Regions from separate parts of the Homo sapiens genome. Here region 1 is linked to region 2. The links are contacts of gene promoters, found by promoter capture Hi-C in blood cells and fetal thymus (Javierre and others, 2016). All regions are on one chromosome and are shown on one strand. The core of a region is centred on a gene start or on the middle of the fragment in contact, and the rest is flanking DNA. Distances in the headings are between cores, read along the strand shown.

Region 1 (2,962 bases), core at 410-2,909, 6.8 Mb after region 2:
GAGTGATATCAACAGCCCCCTAAGCTTTCATAGCAACTGGTAGATGAAAAGTCGCCACCCTAACTGCTCTCCTCCACTGTGCAAACCTACTCTAAATCCCAAATCACTACCCAGGAGGGTCCTTTCTAAAGCAATGGATTTGCAGCAAAGAATGCTTTTCTGGTGTTGCACCTGACAACCTCACAGGCCCCACAGGCCCCCTTCCACAGCCCACAGGTGCAGGTTTACCTCTATACATACGAATATTTCATAGATGCTTCTCCCCACTAACCTAGAAGCCCCAGCAGAAGTGAGGACCATGTTTCCTTGTGCATGCCACTGTAAACCCAGGGCCCAGTCCAGAATGAGGGCTCAACAGATGTTTATAGAAGGAGTGAAGATTTAGAGAAATCGAAAAAATTTTAGATCTTACAAGGCCCTTGCATCTAAACACTCCTCCAATTATGGCTAAAAAATGAGGAGCTATAGAAAACTGTCCTATTTAAATTTTGTTTCTAAAAACATTCATTTTGGCTTCTTTTAAAAAAGTTACTCAATTACTGAACAGATCACTGGTGTGGCCTGTTGAACACAGTGCTGTAACTTCCTGCACAAGAGACAAGTCTGAAAGTTTTGCTTTCCGCTGTGAAAGCATTGGTGACTGCTTGACAGACTCGCTTGAAGCAAATAATGTGTTTTTGGTTAAAAAAAAAAAGTATAAACGCCTAATAACAAAATAGGCATATTTTTGGCTAGAATTTTTTTTTCCAAGGAAAAACCTCCAGCTCATTTTGCTGCCTAAGCCAAAACAGATGCTCCCACTAAGTTGGTGGTGGAACAGACCCAAAGATTCCAATAATGACATATATAACGTGTGTCAACAAGAAAACAAGTGTAAAATCTGCAAACGAGTCCCCAGCTAAGGCGAAATCTTGACAACGCTACTCTGAGGTGAGCGATCCCCTCCCTCCTCCGGGGTTAGGAGTGGCCCAGGAGAGGCGGCGGTGACACGCGCTCTGCGGCCCGGCCGTGTCCCTCTCGGCGCCCCGGGACCCCGCGTGTGGAGAAGGAGAGGCCCGGCGGAGGGAAGTGGCCGGGGAGGACCCTACCTGCCAGCCTCCGGCGCTCAGGGTACGCCAGCCCCAGGAGCTTCCGGGCCTCCGGGAGTCCGGCCGCTGCGGGGCGCAGCCGCCCCTTGTCCCCGGGAGGCGCCGCCGGCCCGCGCCGCCAGGCCTCGTCCCCTGCCCAGGCAGCGGCTGCGGGACCGCCCGGGAACCGGGCGCGCGGGAGCCGAGGAGCGCCTGGCCCGGCAAAAGCCCCGCACCTGCAGCTGCCGGGGCCGCGAGCCCACAGCCCCAGGAGCCGCGCGAGGCCCAGGACGCCCCGCGAGGCGCCCGGACCCCCGCCCCGGCAGCCGCTCCTCCAGCGGCGCGCGGCTCCAACGCCCCAGAGCAGCGCGGGCCCCGCGCCCCATAGCCGCGCCGGCCTCAGGCCAGTGAACGGCGATAGGGACCCGGGAACGCGGCTGGCCGCGGCCCACACGCAGGCTACCGGCAGGAGCCGACCTGGCTCGGCAGGGCTCGGTGGCTCGAGCAGCCGCAGCGGCCAGGCAGGGGGGCCTCGCATGGCGCTGCGTGCGACCCGTACGCCTCAGCCCGCCGGCCAGGCGCGCGCAAAGCCCGAGGACCCTCCCGGCCCGGCCCCGAGCAAAGGGCGTGGACGCGGTGGCGCCCGCCCCTCCCCGCTGGCTGTCACCCGCCTTATCGTGCCTGCACCCTCGGGCTGCGCCCGCCCCCGCCCCATCCTCGTCCGCGCGGTGCCGCGCCTCTCCGCCCCACTCCGGGGACTGCAGCTACCCGGACCTTGCAAGCCACCCTTCCGAGCGCCCCCAACCCGCTCGGGTGCCCTCCCTGCAGCGCCCCCAACTGCCCGCTGGCGGAGGAGCGCCGGGCGCGCCAGCTGGGACGAGGCCCGGGAAGCCCAGGAGCACGGCTGCGCCTGCGTACTGGGCGCAGGGAACTTTTTCGCGCTTCGCCGTCCCCTCTGGTCTGAACTTGGGAACGACACGAGCTCTTTCTCACGCCGGCAGACCGGGCGGAGCGCGCAGACGCGACCACACGATGGCCGGCACAAAGATGGGGCGGGAGGACAGCGTGCTGGATACGGCGTGGGGCGGGTCCGCGGCCCGGGAGACCCATGCTGGGGCGGCCCTGTCACTCGTCTCGCTGCCAAGCACAGGGCTGAGGTGCGGAGGGACCACTGAGAGGACTTCGCTGCGTGTCAGCTCAGCTCTGGACGGCGTGGAGGAGGTGGTTGGCGAATAGTGAAATGTATATAACTTTGAGAAGGGAAGAGATCGTTTCTTTTTTTTCTTTTTTTTTTTTTTCTTGAGACGATCTCGGCTCACTGCAACCTCTGCCTCCCAGGTTCAAGTGATTCTCCCTTCTCAGCCTCCCAAGTAGCTGGGATTACAGGCATACGCCACCACACCCGGCTGATTTTGTATTTTTAGTAGAGACGGGGTTTTACCATGTTGGTCAGGCTCTTTTCGAACTCCTGACCTCAGGTGATCCGCCCGCGTCAGCCTCCCAAAGTGCTGGGATTGCAGGCGTGAGCCACCGTGCCCGGCCTGAGATCGTTTCTTAACTAGAGCAGAAATTTGAAGACAGGCGTGGTCGAGGCATTCCCGCTGTTCGAAGTGGAAAACACTAATCAGAAGGCAATGCATCTTAATACACGTGCATGGAAAGACAGGAGAGAACATTAAAACTCACTGGGACACTTTATGGAGACTTCATGGGGGCGGGGGGGGATATGTACCTGAGGTCCAGTGAGTCGTGGGTAGATTTTTGTAGACTCCTAGGTATTTTTACTGGACCTGGACAGGGTACTGTCAGTTGCAAATTTTATGGGTTCACAAAATAAAAAAACCTCAATAATCAACATAAACATTTTAGTGCAATATTTTTAAAAATCAAAATTA
Region 2 (2,995 bases), core at 150-2,649:
ATGGGGGGTGGGGGAGGCCGGGGGTATTCTACTCATACGTGGTTTCATACTCAGTGAAATCTCAAACAATAACTTGCTTTAAACAGAGAATAATTAATGGCGAGTTTGCAAACAATAGCATTTTGGCAGACAGTTCTTAAGTTCAGTAAAATGTGCAAAAACCTAAGCAAGGTTTTATGTGTATATAAATCTTGTCTTTTATTTTTTAAGACAACCCTGAAGTTTTCTGTGGAAACCAGAAAGGGCAAGAAATTGGTCTTAGGTTGCTCAAGGAAACTGGTACTCACTTGTACCCTGCGGCTATACATTATATACAGGAAAAGGAGGAGGGATCCAAGGAGGGCGTGGAGCTCCTGTGCGTGGTCCATTAATTCACATTTTGCTCTCTTCGGTTCACATCCTGCGCGGACTCCACCCAAGGCAACCGAGCGAGGGGGTGGGTGGGACTCACAGCCTACCAAATAACAGTCCCAGAAACCGAAACGAAATCGAGGTGGAATTCTGAAAACACGGCTCACCAGAAAGAGGGGTGGAGAAGGAGCGCGAGAGGAGACCCTTCTTTTGGCAGAAGAGGTATCCCTGGCCCTCGTTGCTTCCTGGGCTCCCCCCCATCCCCTCAATCGCAAACAGTTCCCTCCTTTCCTACGCATGGAAGAAGGAAGACACACACAGAGCAAGGCCACTCATCCTTGGAACGTGGGCGGAGAACACACAAGTATTCCTCAGAGAATTTCAAAAGGAAATCGAGGAAAAGCAACCTGGGAGAGGAGGAGGAAAGGAAACTGACTGCCAAGTGGGGGACCCGCGAGACGGTGGAAAGGAACTAAGCAGATAGCCTGCTGGGGCCTGCGCCCCAGGAAAGAAGGGCTACCTGTTGAATGGAACTGTCCCTGCGGAGGCGGAGAGGGAAGAAGGCGAGTCACCCCAGAGAGCGGAGCCGTTGTCCCTAGAGCAGCCTCGCTGGGGCTGGTGGCGAGGGATCTCAGCCCCAGTGCCTGCGGAGCCCCACCCTGAGAAGCCTTGGCTGCAGATACGGTGATGAGAGACACCGACAGAAACAAGGGAGAGGCGCACGACTGGAGCCGGTCTGGCCTGCTCCCGCGGTTAGTCACTCACATCTGATACTCGTCTATCGCCTCCACCAGCTGGCCCCAAGAGTCGAAGTCGGCGCCTCTCCTAAAACTGGCGCCCCAGCGCTGCAGCAGACTCCGGGTCACCTCCGACATGGCCGGTCCCCACCCCGTCCCCTCCCGCCCCTACCCCAGCAAGGCCGGGTTCTAGGGCGCCATCCTCCCCCGGCCTGGCCCCGACATTAACAGGGCCAGGAGGAACCGCTACGGCCACCACCGCCACCCGCCGAGGAGCCGCCCAAGCCCATTTGCCGCCACAGCCAAACTTTGCGGCTCCAAAGCGACCGCCCCGCCGAGACCCCGCCCCCGAGGCCCCGCCCCGGGTTAGGTTGAGGCCGCCCCACTGCGCCGAGGGCCGCCATCGCTATTGCGGCATTCTCCCTCGGCTCCGGAGGTAGGGGCAACTCTTCTCTTCCTGTCTGGGAAAAAGACCATAGCTCAAAAGGAAGGCCGAGGGAGAAGTTAGAAAGGGATGATGAACGAAGCGTTTTGAGGGGACTGCAACGCCGCGGCAATACCCGCCCCTGAGCTGCGCGCACTACCGCCTCGGTAGCTATCATGGCCGCCGGGTCACGTGACTCCGGCTTGGCGCCGTCCTGGTTTTCCGTCACCCTGGTTCTGTAGTCTCGGTTCTCCGACTCCCTCTTTTTCTCGCTTGTGGACTCCGATATATTGCCCTTCTTCCCTTAGAAGAACTGCTGAACCGACTCTGAGAAATTTGGTAAGTATGTCAGAGGATGGGTGTTTCTCAGTAATATCCCCCGCTACTTCCCCGGAGTCTCAAGCAATAGGATCACCCCCTTTTACATTAGTCTCCATAGACCCCTGGACAGTGGACCAAAAGTCTCCTTCTAGTGCCTTGAAACAAACGACAGAAAGAAAATCCATATTGGTCACCACAAATCAGTGGCATTAACAGCTAGATCCGCTGAATCCCCTTGCCCCGCATCTCCATTGGTCATTGGAGAGCTTATAATACAAGCTAAACTGGGGTTCGTTCGGCCGTTGTCTGGCCACCTCTCCCGGGTTGACAGTATCGGCTTTCCACAAAAATGCCTGTTTGGAAAGAGGGGAACTCAAGTGTTGGCGCGTGCGCACGGTCGCCGCCCGCTGCCTCGAACGGGACTGGGCACGGGAGGAAGAGGCTGGGTGGTAAACAGGAAGTGGGCGCTCAGAGCTCGGGGGCGGCGCTCAGGTAGGTTCCTCTGGGGACTCGGGGCTTCCGGGGTGGGGGTCCCTTGTTAGGAGCGGGAGTCCTCTTGTGGAAGTGTGTTAGCTTACAGCTTCGATCCGAATGTTGTATTGGTGGCTCTAAAGGCACCCTTGTCCCTGCGGGTGGGTGTGTCGTTCTTCTATCCCACCCTAGGAACTCCCGAAAACTGAAGACCGCCGGGTCGCAGAAGGGGAGAAGATGGGGCAGGGGCAGAAACCCTCTTCTTTCCTGAAGTAAAGATTCGCAAAACTTCAGACATTTTCATCCAGGAAGTAGGAGGCCGCATTAAAAGAAGTATTTGTGGAAGATTTCGCAGCCTCAAGTGCTGAGTGTGATATTATTTGTAGGCACATAGATGCTGTATTAGGCTATCGGAATTTATATGGAAGATGTGTAGAAGATGATATTTTCTGAAATAACTCGTTAAATGTTTTGAGTCCTAAATAAACCTGCTCAGTTTTTCGTTGGGTACACACTGTATTCTCTATTCATTAAGTATGTGGTGCTCCTCAAAACCAGCTTTGTCATGAATAAATAGCATAAAGGAAGCACTTAATGTAGGCATTTCATACACTGTACAGCCACCATTATTTTCTAATACTAGGAAAAGTCGATTGTCAGAATTTTTTAGTGCCTTCAAATTAAATGAACC

Evidence for each region. The method cuts DNA at HindIII sites, captures the fragments that hold promoters and counts their contacts. A CHiCAGO score of 5 or more calls a contact.
Region 1: the fragment with the promoter of ABCB10 here is called in contact with the fragment with the promoter of AIDA in region 2 in 1 of 17 cell types (neutrophils); the score reaches 10.6 in neutrophils.

What each region holds. Positions count from the first base shown.
Region 1 is chr1:229,557,048-229,560,009 of GRCh38, forward strand. ABCB10 (ATP binding cassette subfamily B member 10) reads right to left here and starts at 1,660. Exons shown (of 13, transcript NM_012089.3): 1 at 1,089-1,660. The coding sequence starts at 1,605. RefSeq lists silencers at 870-1,319, 1,380-2,079 and an enhancer at 2,250-2,439. The HindIII fragment of the contact is 4,467 bases long and covers 23-2,962 here.
Region 2 is chr1:222,711,092-222,714,086 of GRCh38, forward strand. AIDA (axin interactor, dorsalization associated) reads right to left here and starts at 1,400. Exons shown (of 10, transcript NM_022831.4): 1 at 1,117-1,400. The coding sequence starts at 1,226. BROX (BRO1 domain and CAAX motif containing) reads left to right here and starts at 1,473. Exons shown (of 13, transcript NM_144695.4): 1 at 1,473-1,851. RefSeq lists enhancers at 1,168-2,082, 2,451-2,670 and a silencer at 1,281-1,500. The HindIII fragment of the contact is 15,501 bases long and covers 1-2,995 here.